Linked DNA regions of Homo sapiens: regions 1 and 3 are each linked to region 2. The links are contacts of gene promoters, found by promoter capture Hi-C in human tissues and cell types (Jung and others, 2019). All regions are on one chromosome and are shown on one strand. Each heading gives the region's core, a stretch centred on a gene start or on the middle of the fragment in contact. The rest is flanking DNA. Distances are from core to core; before and after follow the strand shown. Region 1 has its middle 12 kb from the start of ADA2. Region 2 holds the start of PEX26 (peroxisomal biogenesis factor 26). Region 3 overlaps CECR2 (CECR2 histone acetyl-lysine reader).

What was found. The method cuts DNA at HindIII sites, captures the fragments that hold promoters and counts their contacts. A contact is called where the count stands out against the background at its distance.
Region 1: a contact is called between a fragment that was not itself captured here and the fragment with the promoter of PEX26 in region 2, in 1 of the 25 tissues and cell types used here (lymphoblastoid cells).
Region 3: a fragment that was not itself captured here is called in contact with the fragment with the promoter of PEX26 in region 2 in 1 of the 25 tissues and cell types used here (lymphoblastoid cells).

What each region holds. Positions count from the first base shown.
Region 1 is chr22:17,229,358-17,234,124 of GRCh38, forward strand. No RefSeq gene overlaps it. Among named protein-coding and RNA genes, the nearest start is that of ADA2, 12 kb to the left of the region's middle. The HindIII fragment of the contact is 6,517 bases long and covers 1-4,767 here.
Region 2 is chr22:18,076,393-18,080,750 of GRCh38, forward strand. PEX26 (peroxisomal biogenesis factor 26) reads left to right here and starts at 1,598. Exons shown (of 5, transcript NM_001127649.3): 1 at 1,598-2,214; 2 at 3,482-3,622. The coding sequence starts at 1,985. LOC105372853 (a long non-coding RNA gene) reads left to right here. Exons shown (of 6, transcript XR_001755424.2): 6 at 1,266-1,504. RefSeq lists enhancers at 1,272-1,331, 1,662-1,891, 2,372-2,421 and a silencer at 1,962-2,011. The HindIII fragment of the contact is 17,547 bases long and covers 1-4,358 here.
Region 3 is chr22:17,517,799-17,522,447 of GRCh38, forward strand. All of the region lies in intron 8 of CECR2 (CECR2 histone acetyl-lysine reader), which reads left to right. It also overlaps the pseudogene DNAJA1P6. Among named protein-coding and RNA genes, the nearest start is that of SLC25A18, 43 kb to the right of the region's middle. The HindIII fragment of the contact is 6,795 bases long and covers 1-4,649 here.

The sequences.
Region 1 (4,767 bases), core at 1,154-3,653, 850 kb before region 2:
ACTTTTCCATTTTCCCTCCCCACAAAAGCTGTTCTTCTTCCAACTTTCCCCTTCCCAGTGAGTGGCACCTCCATCCACCCAGTTGTTTCTGCCAGAAACCTGATTTCCACTCTAGAAAATGAGGAGGAGTTAGCGGATATCTTCCACATCTCCCACCCCAAATCTCCACCAGGCCCCCATGTTTACCCTTCAACCTGCCCACTCCTTCCATCTCCACAGTTGCAACCCAATGCAAGGCCCCATCATCCCTCAGCTGCTCACTTCAGCAGCTTCTACTTTTGTCCCCTTTCCATTAATTTTCCACTCTGCAGATCTAAAAACACAAATTTCAGCATGCCCCTCATGTTCCTTCCTGCTGAAAACCTTTCAAAGTCTACCCACTACACAGTGAGCAAAATGCAAGCTCTTTTTCTTGGCCTGCTGGGCCAGCCTTATCTGGCCTGGAGACCATGTCTCCACCCTCTCCCCCAGCTCCCGACCTGCTGGCCAGCCTTCCTGTGGCCTCTCAAGTGAGGGGGCCCTTCACTTCCAAGGCGCTGCTGTGCAATCCCCTTTACGGGGGAGCTCCTTCCCCTCCTTGACTAGTGCAGCTCCCACCCATCCTTGAGATCCCGATGGAAATGTGTCTTCCTGGGGAGGGCTTCAGGGAACACCCCTATAGGAAGTTAGCCCCGGTTCCACTCTTCACAATACCCTTTTATCTTCTTCCACAACATGTATCACAGCTTGTGATTTTGTATTCATAGATTTCTATGACTGTTCGTTTCATATATATTCGCATAGCAGATGGAAAGCTGTTGTTTACCTTGGGGTCTTCATAGTGCCAGGCTCAGAGGAAGGACCCAAACGTCTGCTGCGGGAAGGCACGCATGATTGAAAGTATGGAGGAAAAGAGCGGGTGTTTGGGTGTATGAGTGTTTGTTAGACATTTAGGTCTCCTCAACCTGGTGTAACACAGAAGAGGCAAATGACACCAGGGTGCCTTGCAAGGAGTGGCCAATCAGCCCAGCCATTCGCTGTGTGGCTTCTTGTGTGCCATTGGCCAAAACTTGTCATAAATAGATGAGCCTACAATGCCAGCAGTGTACACAGTGCCTCCTGGAATCGGGCAGCACTCTACTTGTGCAATCATACCACAATCTTAGAGATCATGATAAATGCCAACAGCAAATGGATAAGCCTGGGCAAGTTCTTCTTGTTTGTTTGCATTTAGCTCTTCATTTTCTTTTTTTTCTTTTCTTTTCTTTTTTTTTTTTTTGAGACAAAGTTTCACTCTTGTTGCCCAGGCTGGAGTGTAATGGCACGATCTCAGCTCACTGCAACCTCCGTCTCCTGGGTTCAAAGCAATTCTCCTGCCTCGGCCTCCCGCGTAGCTGGTATTATAGCCATGCGCCACCACGCCTGGCTAATTTTGCATTTTCAGTAGAGATGGGGTTTCTCCATGTTGGTCAGGCTGGTCTCGAACTCCCGACCTCAGGTGATCTGCCCGCCTCGGCCTCCCAAAGTGCTGGGATTATAGGCATGAGTCACCGCACCCGGCTTTTTAAATTTTTTTATTTTTTACTTTTATTTTTTAGATGGAGTCTCACTCTGTCGCCCAGGCTGGAGTGCAATGGCGCAATCTCGGCTCACTGCAACCTCTGCCTTCCGGGTTCAAGCAATTCTCTGACTCAGCCTCCCAAGTAGCTGGGATTATAGGCACCCACCACCACACCGGGCTAATTTTTCTATTTTTTAGTAGAGATGGGGTTTCATCATCTTGGCCAGGCTGGTCTTGAACTCCTGACCTTGTGATCCACCCACCTTGGCCTCCCAAAGTGCTGGGATTACAGGCATGAGCCACCGCGCCCGGCCTAGCTCCTCATTTTCAGTGCAACACTGAAACATCCCGAGGGATCAAGCCCAAGCCACTTGCCTCCCATCTTTCTGTTTCTCATCTCCCACACACTCTTTTTTTGTTTTTTTTGAGACGGGAATCTCGCTCTGTCACCCAGGCTGGAGTGCAGTGGTGCCACCTCCATTCACCACAACCTCCACCTCCCGGGTTCAAGTGGTTCTCATGCCTCAGCCTCCTGAGTAGCTGAGATTACAGGCACCCGCCACTAATTTAAAAATTAAATATAAAAATTAGCCTGCTGGCTAATTTTTGTATTTTTAGTAGAGAGGAGGTTTCACCATGTTGACCAGGCTGGTCTCGAACGTCTGATCTCAACTGATCCGCCCGCCTCAGCCTCTGAAAGTGCTGGGATTACAGGCGTGAGCCACCACGCCCAGACTCCCATACTTTGTAAGCACCGACATTTATCTTTACAACTCTCCGTAGTTTTCTTTCTTCCATTCCTATTTTTCATTTTCTTTTCTGCGGGGAAAAGGGAGTGGCTTTTTCTTTATCACTGCTGTCATGCCTGGTGAGACTGTCTGTATTTTGGTCCTTTCCTTTGGCTGCCCCAGGAATCATCATCAATTATGCCAACATCTGTGACTTGCCACCTTCAAAGTGGGCTCTGAATCCAAAGACAAAAGATGGCCCTCTGGGCCAGACGTGGTGGCTCACACCTGTAATCCCAGCACTTTGGGAGGCTGAAGCAGAAGAATTGCTTGAGCGCAGAAGTTTGAGGCTGCAGTGAGCCATAATCACACCACTGCACTCCAGTCCAGGCGACAGAGCAAGACCATATCTCTAAAAAATAATAATAATAAAAACTTAAAAAAAAAAAGTAGGAAAAAAAAGGCCTCTCGTGTGATTGTGCATGTTTTGGCCAGCCTTTTCTATACGTCAGACGTGGGGTCCGTGGCCTTGTTGGGGTGAAGGACTTTTATTTCCACCTGTTGACAGGACAGCAGGAGGACTGCCTGCCCTTCCTGGTCTGACGGTTGCTGTGTTGTTCTCAAGAGCCTTCCTCCAGCAGCAGGGAGGGGAGGACTGGCTGTCTCAGAATCTTTTAAAAGCCCTGCTGTCTGAGGACCTGCATCACCCAGGATTCCGTTTCATTTCTCCAGCCACAATCCCTGCCAGTGTTCTCTGCACTCTGGATGAGAGACCTTAGGAAAGCAAATCAGATCGTATCACTTCCCTTCTGAAAATTCCAAAAGCTCCCCCCGCCCCCGCCGCACCGGCCTCTCTTTATTGGCCCCCTGCACAGCCTCCAGCTCCTCGTACTGACCTCTTTGCAGTTCTCCAAACCGGCCAGGCTCGTGCTTTGCAGAGGCCTTTGCACAGGTGCACACACCCGCTGGGCCTGGAAGACCTTTCCCTTCCCGCTTCACGAAGGCCAGGTGGCCTCCCTGGGCTGAGCCCCTGTCTCAGCATGTGGCGCACTGTGTTGAAATGCTCCAGGACTTGAGTGCGTCTATCACTGGGATACACCTCCCAATGGCAGAGGCAGTCTCGTCACCAAATACTGTGGGTGCCGCTCTCTATATAACTGCTCGGTCAATGTTTGCCCAGTGGTTGAATGAATGGATGCGAGAAGCTGCTTAGTTCCCTTCTCTCCCTGGGGCTCCAGTCCTGCCACGGAGGGAGCATTAGGAACAAGCACTCACAACTGTTCTTTGACAGGTCTTTGTGACTGATTAAGCAGGTCCTTTATCTCTAATGTGCATTTCCTTATCGCTGTTCTACATCTCCTGGCCTCCTCTTTAAACCAAAAGCTCCATCCAGAGCCTCCAAATGGATGACTATTCAGCAGGACCGCAAGAGGAGCGCTGTTGAGGGGAAAGAGTAGTGGGGGGGATGGCGCTGAGACAGAGGGAGGAAGGGCAGAGGAACCCAACTTCTCAGCTGCCTCTTTTGTGCTCTGTCCTTTCCCTTCTAACTCCCTCCCCACTCTGTGCACCACCTATTACTGTCCCTATTGTAGAAGATGTGGAAACGCGGGCCTCACGGGTTCAATAGCCAACAGACACTCAGTTCCGCAGCCATCAAGAGGAAGACCAGGTAAAAACAACAGCCACAGCTGAGCTCCACAGATGACCTGGTGTAAGCCTCAGTCGCCTTATGAGGTGGGCAAGCACTTTCCCCCCATTCAACAGATGAAAAACCTGACTTCAGAGAAGCTAATACCCTGGATCCAGGTTCCAGCAAGTGGCTGAGCCAGGCCCATGACACTAAACCTGTCCTTCGCTTACAGCCTCCTAGGGGAGGAGAGAGAAAACAGAAGCGGGAAAAGGCCAATTGAGAGGGAGAAAGTTCTGGAGCAGGACTGCAAGGCGACCTTGGCTTCCTGGCCCCTGATGGCTGTATTTGCAGGTGCATCACACACCCTTCTCAGCCTCTGCTCCCTGCACTGAACATGCTGGAACTCCAACCACACCTCACCTGCCACCTTCCTACCAGACACTTCTATTTGCCCTTCTCCCACTTTTGCCCAGGGGCCAGTTTCAGCTGCTCACTTTCCAAAGGATCACTTGAGCAGCACCTCCATCTACACAGACTGCAGAAGGCCCAACTGAATGCAGGCTGGATGCAGCCTGGGCTGCACCTTAGAATCACCTGGGAAACTTTTACAAGCCACAGGTGTCTAGGCCCCGCCCCAGGCCCATTAAGTCACATTCCTTGGACTTGGGCTCTGGTATATTTAGGGGTGCAGGGGAGTGGTCTGGTATATTTTAAAAGCTTCCCTAGTGATTATTCTGCACAGAGGACTCAAAGCCACCCCATTTCCGGAGACAGGTTCACATGAAAAAGTTGAATAGCAACATTCGGCATCATCTACACACATTAAGATTCAGATTCCTCGAGAGTCACACCTGGGCGCTGGCGACTCC
Region 2 (4,358 bases), core at 348-2,847:
CCCTCAGCCATTGGGAGCTAAGGACAAACTGTTATCCCAATTTTACAGGTGAGGAAATCAGAGCTTATTTAAATAAATTGCCGAGGTCACACAACTAGTAAGCGACAAAATCTCAGTCAAACCGAGGCTCTTTTGGTTCAAAGATGTGTATTGAGCTCTACTCTGCTCTGCAGGGACAGAACTAAGTATGTTTGCTATTCAGGGGATACACAGTCATTCCATGAGCAAGTTACACAATGTAAAATAAGGACATTGTGAAAAACAAAACCATACCGTACATAATGCACTTTATAGTAAAGTACTGGGAACAGAGTATTTGGTAAATTGTAACTATAATAATAATTTTAAACAGATCCACAAATCACACTTATTATTATATTCTGTTTCACCCGGGCTTTGCCAAGCTTCCCACATTTGTACTAGATCCTCTTGGCTTTAGTTTCTCCCCAGTTCTCTACCCTTTGAATTCACTCCAAAGCTTCCCTAGAATCTTTGCTCTCCTAGAAATTAGATTAAACAGGCACCTGCTCACATCATACATCCCCTGCCCTTGTCACCAGACATGCACACATCCATCTTCTGGGATTTCCGTTCTCTTGCAGAAAAGTCTGCATGGGAAGCTGAGGCAGAACCAAGTCCACCAGACTCCGAGGAAAGAGAAGTCTGGACCCTGTAACCAGATAAAAGTGAAACCAGGACTTCATTTATTCCACAAATACTTTTTGACTACCTATAGATGACAGGCACTGTTCAAGGCATTGAGGTTCCCACAGTGAACAAAAGAGACAAAAACGTCTGCCTTTGTGAGTTTATATCATAGTGGAAGGAAATAGACAATAAAAATAAGTAAAATATAGACATTGGTATGTAGATGGTGATAAATGATAAGGAGAAATATAAAGACAGATCGGAAGTGACAACAGTGGGGAAGTGGAATTGGTATCTGCATTTAACGTTGTTTTTTAACAGCAAATTCAGGATGGGGCAGAGAGCAGTGAGAAAAATGAGGCCCTTATGCTCAGCGCCCCCAACCCCGCCTCGGTGGGGTCACTATTCATTTTGGAACATTGCCCTTGGGACCAACATATTCTCAGTGGTCCTTGTGAAGGTTTCCACCCTAAGTCCCTCATCCTCACCAGGCAATATTCATTACCCTACAGCAAACTCCGGAGGCAACGCGGAGAAAGTGTGAATCAATTCAAGACTAAGGTTGCCAAAATGTTTGATCAGCTCTGCGTCAGCCTTGACATTACATTACATTACAGATCCCCTGATCGCCACCGTCGCAGAAGCTCTGAATTAAAAGCGTGCATGTAGCTGCACATCCATTGCTGGCACTTCTTCCGTTAGCCTCCGCTGGAACTGGTTAGTGAGGACCCCTCCATTTCACAAGACAGCTTCGGTTTTGCTTCGTTTTGACTTCCGCACCCCGAAGCTGTAGCACCAGTTTGTTTTCTCACGGCACAGGGGCGGCTTCCGGGGCGCGGCGTGCTGGGGGTTGTAGTCCGCGCTCTGCCTCCTACTTCCATTACAGAAGGCGATGGGCCGAGAGCTGAGGAACTACAACTCCTAGAGTACTCCGCGCCGCCGGGACGCCGCGCGGCTGCGGGGCTGGGCGAGCGCAAAGATGTCCGCGCCCGCTGCCGGGAGGCGAGGTGAGTCTTTGATCGTAACCAGGAGCCCGGAGCTGAGGCAGTTCCTGCACGTGTCGCGGGGCCGGAGAAGCTAGGGCCAGGTATTCCAGGGATGCAAGAATCCTGCAAATCTGACGTGTAAACTGCTTCCCCAGCCTCCAGGCGAGCCCAGCTTTTGCCTCAGATAGGCCCCTTCCTTTTCCTTCTCGGGGAATCGACCTCGGGAAGGGGTGTGGGCAAAGAGATGAGGACTCTCCCTCTTCGCCCAGGCCAACTCGGGATATCCCGGAGCCTCTGGGGAGGCGGTCACTCCGACGTCTGAGGACCTGGGCCTTGGACCCGGACTCGTTATGAAGAGCGATTCTTCGACCTCTGCAGCCCCCCTCAGGGGGCTCGGGGGACCCCTGCGCAGCAGCGAGCCGGTGCGCGCGGTCCCGGCCCGGGCGCCGGCCGTGGACCTTCTGGAGGAGGCGGCCGACCTCCTGGTGGTGCACCTGGACTTCCGGGCGGCGCTGGAGACCTGCGAGCGGGCCTGGCAGAGTCTGGCCAACCACGCCGTGGCAGAGGAACCCGCGGGCACGTACGTGCTGGGCTCGGAAATGAACCGATTTCCGGGCGCTCTTGTGGTGGGGCTCAAGGTCTCAGGAGTTCTGTCCTTCCCAGATTGCCCACAAGGAGCTTTACACCTCGCTTTCATCAGTGGTTTGTCTCCGAGAGGGTGGTCGCTCATCGTGTGCCCATTCTACAGAGAAGGGAAGTCGTGTAACAAAAACTTAGTGGGGATCCCACAGCCAATTATTTGCTCCTTGTTCCAAGGTACAATGACATGATGGGAAGGCTGAATGTGTATTAAGTGCTAAGTTCTGTCAGTAAGCAGGTGGTAAAAGTCCTCTCCCAGGTACCTCCGCCCTCCCCGCCCCGCCCAAGGTTGTTTATTCCTGACCTTGGCTGATGATGGGGAATGGGGGTCATGGCAGGAGCAGCGTTCTGGTCCAATTAGAGGACTGGATTAAAGAATTAATTCAGGGCCGGGAGCTGGGGCTTACGCCTGTAATCCCAGCACTTTGGGAGGCCGAGGCAGGAGGATTGCTTGAGCCCAGGAGTTCGAGACCAGCCTGGGTAACATAATGAGCCCTCTTCTCTACCAAAAAGAAGAAAAAGAAAAGAATCCGGAGAAAAAAACCTTGGGCTTGCATTGCTCTTTCTAATGCCACCAGCCTCGTCTGGCAGGTGAGGGAGTCATTTCTTTGCATTGTAAACTTGGGTTAGGCCACGCTAGGGAGGTGGTAGGTAGAATAGCTAAAGTTGACCACAAAGAAGGATGATCTGGAGAGCCCTGGCTGTGTTTTAGGGGACTGGGTGGGAGCTCATTTCAGTGAATGCAGAAGGCTTTGCTTCTGGGTGTCTGGAGGAACCTTACTAGGTGGTGCCTTTTAGCCAGCTATGGAGTCTATACCTCCACTCAGCCAGAAACCTTGCTCCAAGCCCATTTGTTCACAGAGCAAACTCTTAGTTCCAGCTCTCTTTTCAGCCACACACCGGTGCTGTGTGTTATTTCCCCCTCAGGATTACCCTTCCTCTTCATTTAAATCTGATTTCACCTGGATACAAAGATGAACGTTGAGCAACAGCTGACTTGCCTCTTGAAAGAGGGTTACAGGAACTTTTAGTTCCTGGGGGAAAGGGCAGCCCATGAGACCAATTGTGAAGCCCATCTAAATACTAACAGGGATGAGAGAGATGATGGCTGCTGAGTTGGGAGCTGGAGAGGAACAGTCCCAAGGTGGAGGTGGGAATGGAAATGGAGGGGAACCACTTCTAACTGAAATTGGTTTTTCTGCTGACAGCTCATTGGAGGTGAAGTGCTCCCTGTGTGTTGTGGGGATCCAGGCCCTGGCAGAAATGGATCGGTGGCAAGAAGTCCTCTCCTGGGTCCTTCAGTATTACCAGGTCCCTGAAAAGCTACCCCCCAAAGTCCTGGAGCTGTGGTAAGTCTTCTTTGCTGACTCATCAGATCGGTTCAGAAACGAGAGGATTTTCATCTCCTCTCCTAAATACCTACTCTTTTCCCCTTCCCTACTATTGCCCTCCAGATCGGATTCTTTCCCTTCACTTTTTTTTCCCCAGACTTCCATACATAGCAATAAAGAATAAGGGGGAGGAATTTAGGAGTAGAATAGATATAAAGAAGGGAGGAAACAGGGAATAGGAGCGACGTGGGATGACAGAGTGGACAGAGCTGAAAGAGCAGCTTGCTACGTCCTAGGAATTCCTAATTCTTAAAAAAAAATTTTGTTTTGTTTTGTTTTGTTTTGTTTTTTGAGACGGAGTCTCGCCCTGTCGCCCAGGTTGGAGTGCAGTGGCACAGTCTCTGCTCACTGCAAGCTCCACCTCCCGGGTTCACACCATTCTCCTGCCTCAGCCTCCCGAGTAGCTGGGACTACAGGCGCCTGCCACCACGCCCGGCTAATTTTTTTGTGTTTTAAGTAGAGACAGGGTTTTACCGTGTTAGCCAGGATGGTCTCAATCTCCTGACCTCGTGATCCACCTGCCTCGGCATCCCAAAGTGCTGGGATTACAGATGTGAGCCATCGCCCCTGGCCAAAAAATAACAAAGTTTTTAAAATTGACACTTGTACATATTTATGGGGTAAATTAGACATTTCAATATATGCTGTGTATATGTTGTATAATGATCAAATCAGGGTAGTTAGCATATCCATC
Region 3 (4,649 bases), core at 1,695-4,194, 560 kb before region 2:
CCGAAGTCATCGTACATAACAGGGCAAAGTCAGAGTTTTTATCATTGCGTTTATTCTTCATTTACCTTTAAAACACTTCTCTAGCTGAATATTTAAAACAATAGGAAGCAGTGAGCATATTATGGTTACAGGCCTTCACTCAGTCACTGTTGCAGATAAAATGCCAGCAGTGAGTGTTACTCACTGGCCCAGTTAAGGGCTTTGACACTGACCACCTCTTCTGGGGAGATGGTGTTCCTTGCCCTCATATGCTTCTCCATTGTAATGCTGCCATCTTTGCTGATTTGCCTCAGAGCCCACCAGTTCTTTTTGATCATCCCATCAGTCTCTTCTACTTCCTTTCTACCAGGTAGAAGTTTTTCCAGCAAAGAGAGTTTATTAGGAGAGAGAGCCATTCTGAGGAGCGTTTACATAAATTAAGTGATTAGGCGACGCTTTGCATACGGTGTGCAGTAAATTGGCATTCCTTCATTTAGCACACACTTGATGTCCCCGTGCTTGACATTCTGACCTGGACCATGGTTCAGTCTTGAAAGCAGATGTTAGCGTTTGGGAGTCACACAGTGTTTCAGCCAGCTGTGTGTCTGTACACAGGAAAAGGTCTTCTCCCTGTCAAGTAAAAACAGCATGGTCTTTCTGTTCTACCCCAGTGGTAATGTTTCCTGGCTCCAGTTCTGGTCTTGGTATCCTTCACCACGGAATGTTATCTTCTGGCCATCTTTCATGCCTTTGTCAATATGGACTTCTAGAATCTCCTTCTCTGCAACTGTCTTCCTTCCATTGCAGCTGTCACGTCTATCTTTAGGACGGATGGTTTCCCCATGGGCTTGGCACTCCATGCACACAGATTGAATTTGCTGAACCATTCCAGGTCTTATTGATGAATTACTGTTTGCATTCAAGCACCTCAGCAGTTGGCACAGCAGGATCCTGCTCCCTTCTTAACACCTCTGCCTTCACATTTGTCACAAATCATATTCTTTTGCAGAGCCAGTTTTCTTTTTTCACCATTGGATAGATCTCCTAAGGCTACTGAGAGCTGATGTAGGAGTTTTTACCTCTCCTTTCTCTTAGTATCCTTCCTTCTCCCCCAAAAAAACTTAGCAGAGATGTCCATGGGGGAATGAGAACTGCCACCAGCCCCACCCTCTTTAATTGCCTGTCCTCCTTTGTCATAGAATTCCCTATTCTCTGCATCAGAGAGAACTTCTCAAGATTGAGAAATCCATTTAACTTCTCTCCTTCATTTAGATTCTTACCAGGGTATTACTTCAAAGCCATTTTTAAGCCTTTGTCAGTTCTTCGTGGGTAGCATTAGGTTTGACCCCCAAGATGTCATAGTAAGTGGTTTCTTTCACAATTTTCTGTAGCCAGTGAGTGGGCTGAGGCTGGTGGTGGGGAGTGGGGAGGGGCCTGTAGCTCTGTGCAGTCCGTGCAGCCACTGCTCCTCCACCTCACACCAAGCATCTGGAAAGTTCCCTCAGGTGTTTTGTGTTTTTTTTTTTTTTTTTGAGACGGAGTCTCATTCTGTCACCCAGGCTGGAGTGCAGTGGCACAATCTCAGCTTACTGCAACCTCTGCCTCCCGAGTAGCTGGGACTACAGGCGCCCGCCACCATGCCCAGCTAATTTTTTGTATTGTTAGTAGAGACAGGGTTCACCACATTAGCCAGGAAGGTCTTGATCTCCTGACCTCGTGAACCACCCACCTCGGCCTCCCACAGTGCTGGGATTACAGGCATGGGCCACCATGCCCGGCCCCTCGTGTGCTTTATATATTGTTTGTGAGTTTTGTGTTCGTGTTCCATTTGTTTGAGGGGAGCACTGTTAACTGATTGTGAGATATTACATATTAAGAATAATAAGTCATACTCATTACAGAAAAAGAATTATATATTAGTAAGATTTAGGTTATTGGCTTTTGGGTTTTTTCTCTTTCTCCCTCTCCACTGACTTAACACATGAACACTTCCTATGTTGGTTTAGATTATCAAGTCTTTTTTTTTTTTTTTGAGACATAATCTCACTCTGTTGCCAGGCTGGAGTGCAGTGGCACAATCTTGGTTCACTGCAACCTCCGCCTCCCAGGTTCAAGCGATTTTCCTGCCTCAGCCCCCCAAGTAGCTGGGACTACAGGCACACACCACCGTGCCCAGCTAATTTTTGTATTTTTAGTAAAGACAGAGTTTCACCATGTTTACCAGGATGGTCTCAATCTCTTAACCTCATGATCCACCCACCTTGGCCTCCCAAGGTGCTGAGATTACAGGCGTGAGCCACCGTGCCTGGCCAGATTATCAAGTCTTGAGTGACTTAACATTACAATTTCATGAGTAATTGGCTTGCATTTGCTCAGTCCTTATTAAAATGTTAGATTCTATTTAATGTACCCTGTACTGATGAAAGAAGAATATTTCACAGGTTTACACCTATTGTCTTTTGTTGTGGGGGAGAGTGGCCAGAATACACATAGGTAATTCTGTAAATAACTTTCATGTTTGATATATAGATATACCTGTTTTCCTCTCATTTTGGGGTCTGACATACATAAAGCATCACAATTCTCTTTCAATGAAATCTTCCCTTTGACAAGGCTCAGGTTTTTTTTTTATTGTAAGTAGGATTTTTAAATTATTATTATACTTTAAGTTCTAGAGTACATGTGCAGAATGTGCAGGTTTGTTACATAGGTATACATACATGTGCCATGTTGGTTTGCTGCACCCATCAACTCATCATTTACATTAGGTATTTCTCCTAATGCTATCCCTCCCCCAGTCCCCCACCCTCTGACAGACCCCGGTGTGTGATGTTCCCCGCCCTGTGCCCAAGTGTTCTCATTGTTCAGTTCCCACCTATGAGTGAGAACATGCGGTGTTTGGTTTTCTGTCTTGTGATAGTTTGCTGAGAATGATGGTTTCCAGCTTCATTCATGTCCCTGCAAAGGACATGAACTCGTCTTTTTGGGTTTTTTGGGCTGCATAGTATTCCATGGTGTATATGTGCCTCATTTTCTTATTCCAGTCTATCATTGATGTCCATTGATGGACAATTTGGGTTGGTTCCAAGTCTTTGCTATTGTGAATAGCGCCGCAATAAACATACGTGTGCATGTGTCTTTATAGTAGCATGATTTACAATCCTTTGGGTATATACCCAGTAATGGGATCACTGGGTCAAATGGTATTTCTAGTTCTAGATCCTTGAGGAATTGTCACACTGTCTTCCCCAATGGTTGAACCAGTTTACACTCCCACCAACAGCGTAAAAGCGTTCCTATTTCTCCACATCCTCTCCAGCATCTGTTGTTTCCTGACTTTTTAATGATCGCCATTCTAACTGGCGTGAGATGGTATCTCATTGTGGTTTTGATTTGCATTTCTCTGATGACCAGTGATGATGAGCATTTTTTCATGTGTCTTTTGGCTGCATAAATGTCTTCTTTTGAGAAGCATCTGTTCGGCCGGGCGCAGTGGCTCACGCCTGTAATCCCAGCACTTTGGGAGGCCAAGGCAGGAGGATCACGAGGTCAGGAGATCGAGACCATCCTGGCTAACACAGTGATACCCCGTCTCTACTAAAAATACAAAAAATTAGCCAGGCGTGGTGGCGGGCGCCTGTAGTCCCAGCTACTCAGGAGGCTGACGCAGGAGAATGGTGGAGCTTGCAGTGAGCCGAGATGGCGCCACTGCACTCCAGCCTGGGTGACAGAGCGAGACTCCATCTCAAAAAAAAAAAAAAGAGAGAGAGAGAGAAGTGTCTGTTCATATCCTTTGCCCACTTTTTCATGGGGTTGTTTGATTTTTTTTGTTGTTGTTAATTTCTTTAAGTTCTTTGTACATTCTGGATATCAGCCCTTTGTCAGATGAGTAGATTGTAAAAATTTTCTCCCATTCTGTAGGTTGCCTGTTCACTCTGATGGTAGTTTCTTTTGCTGTGCAGAAGCTCTTTAGTTTAATTAGATCCCATTTGTCTGTTTTGGCTTTTGTTGCCATTGCTTTTGGTGTTTTAGTCATGAAGTCCTTGCCCATGCCTATGTCCTGAATGGTAATGCCTAGGTTTTCTTCTAGGGTTTTTATGGTTTTAGGTTTTACATTTAAGTCTTTAATGCATCTTGAATTAATTTTTGTATAAGGTATAAGGAAGGGATCCAGTTTCAGCTTTCTACATATGGCTAGCCAGTTTTCCCAGCACCATTTATTAAATACGGAATCCTTTCCCTGTTACTGGTTTTTGTCAGGTTTGTCAAAGATCATATGGTTGTAGATGTGTGGTGTTATTTCTGAGGCCTCTGTTCTGTTCCATTGGTCTATATCTCTGTTTTGGTACCAGTACCATGCTGTTTTGGTTACTGTAGTGACAAGGCTCAGTATTATCTCCTCTCTTTCCCCTGCCCATGTGAGTCAACTGATACCTTATGGTGTTTTTTTGGCATCAGTATACATCTGAAAAGAGCAAAGGCAAATAGTTTTGTTTTACTTTGCTTTGTTAACTGCAGTTTCATCATATCTCAGCTGGGTAAAGATGTTGCTGGAACAATTAAGAACCTTGGAAGTGGGGTGGAAGTGAGAGCAGGGATTATGGCAAAATTTAGGGAAGGTGCTTGACAGACATTTATTCGGGAAGCAGTGGCCAGAGTTGCAGTCTTCG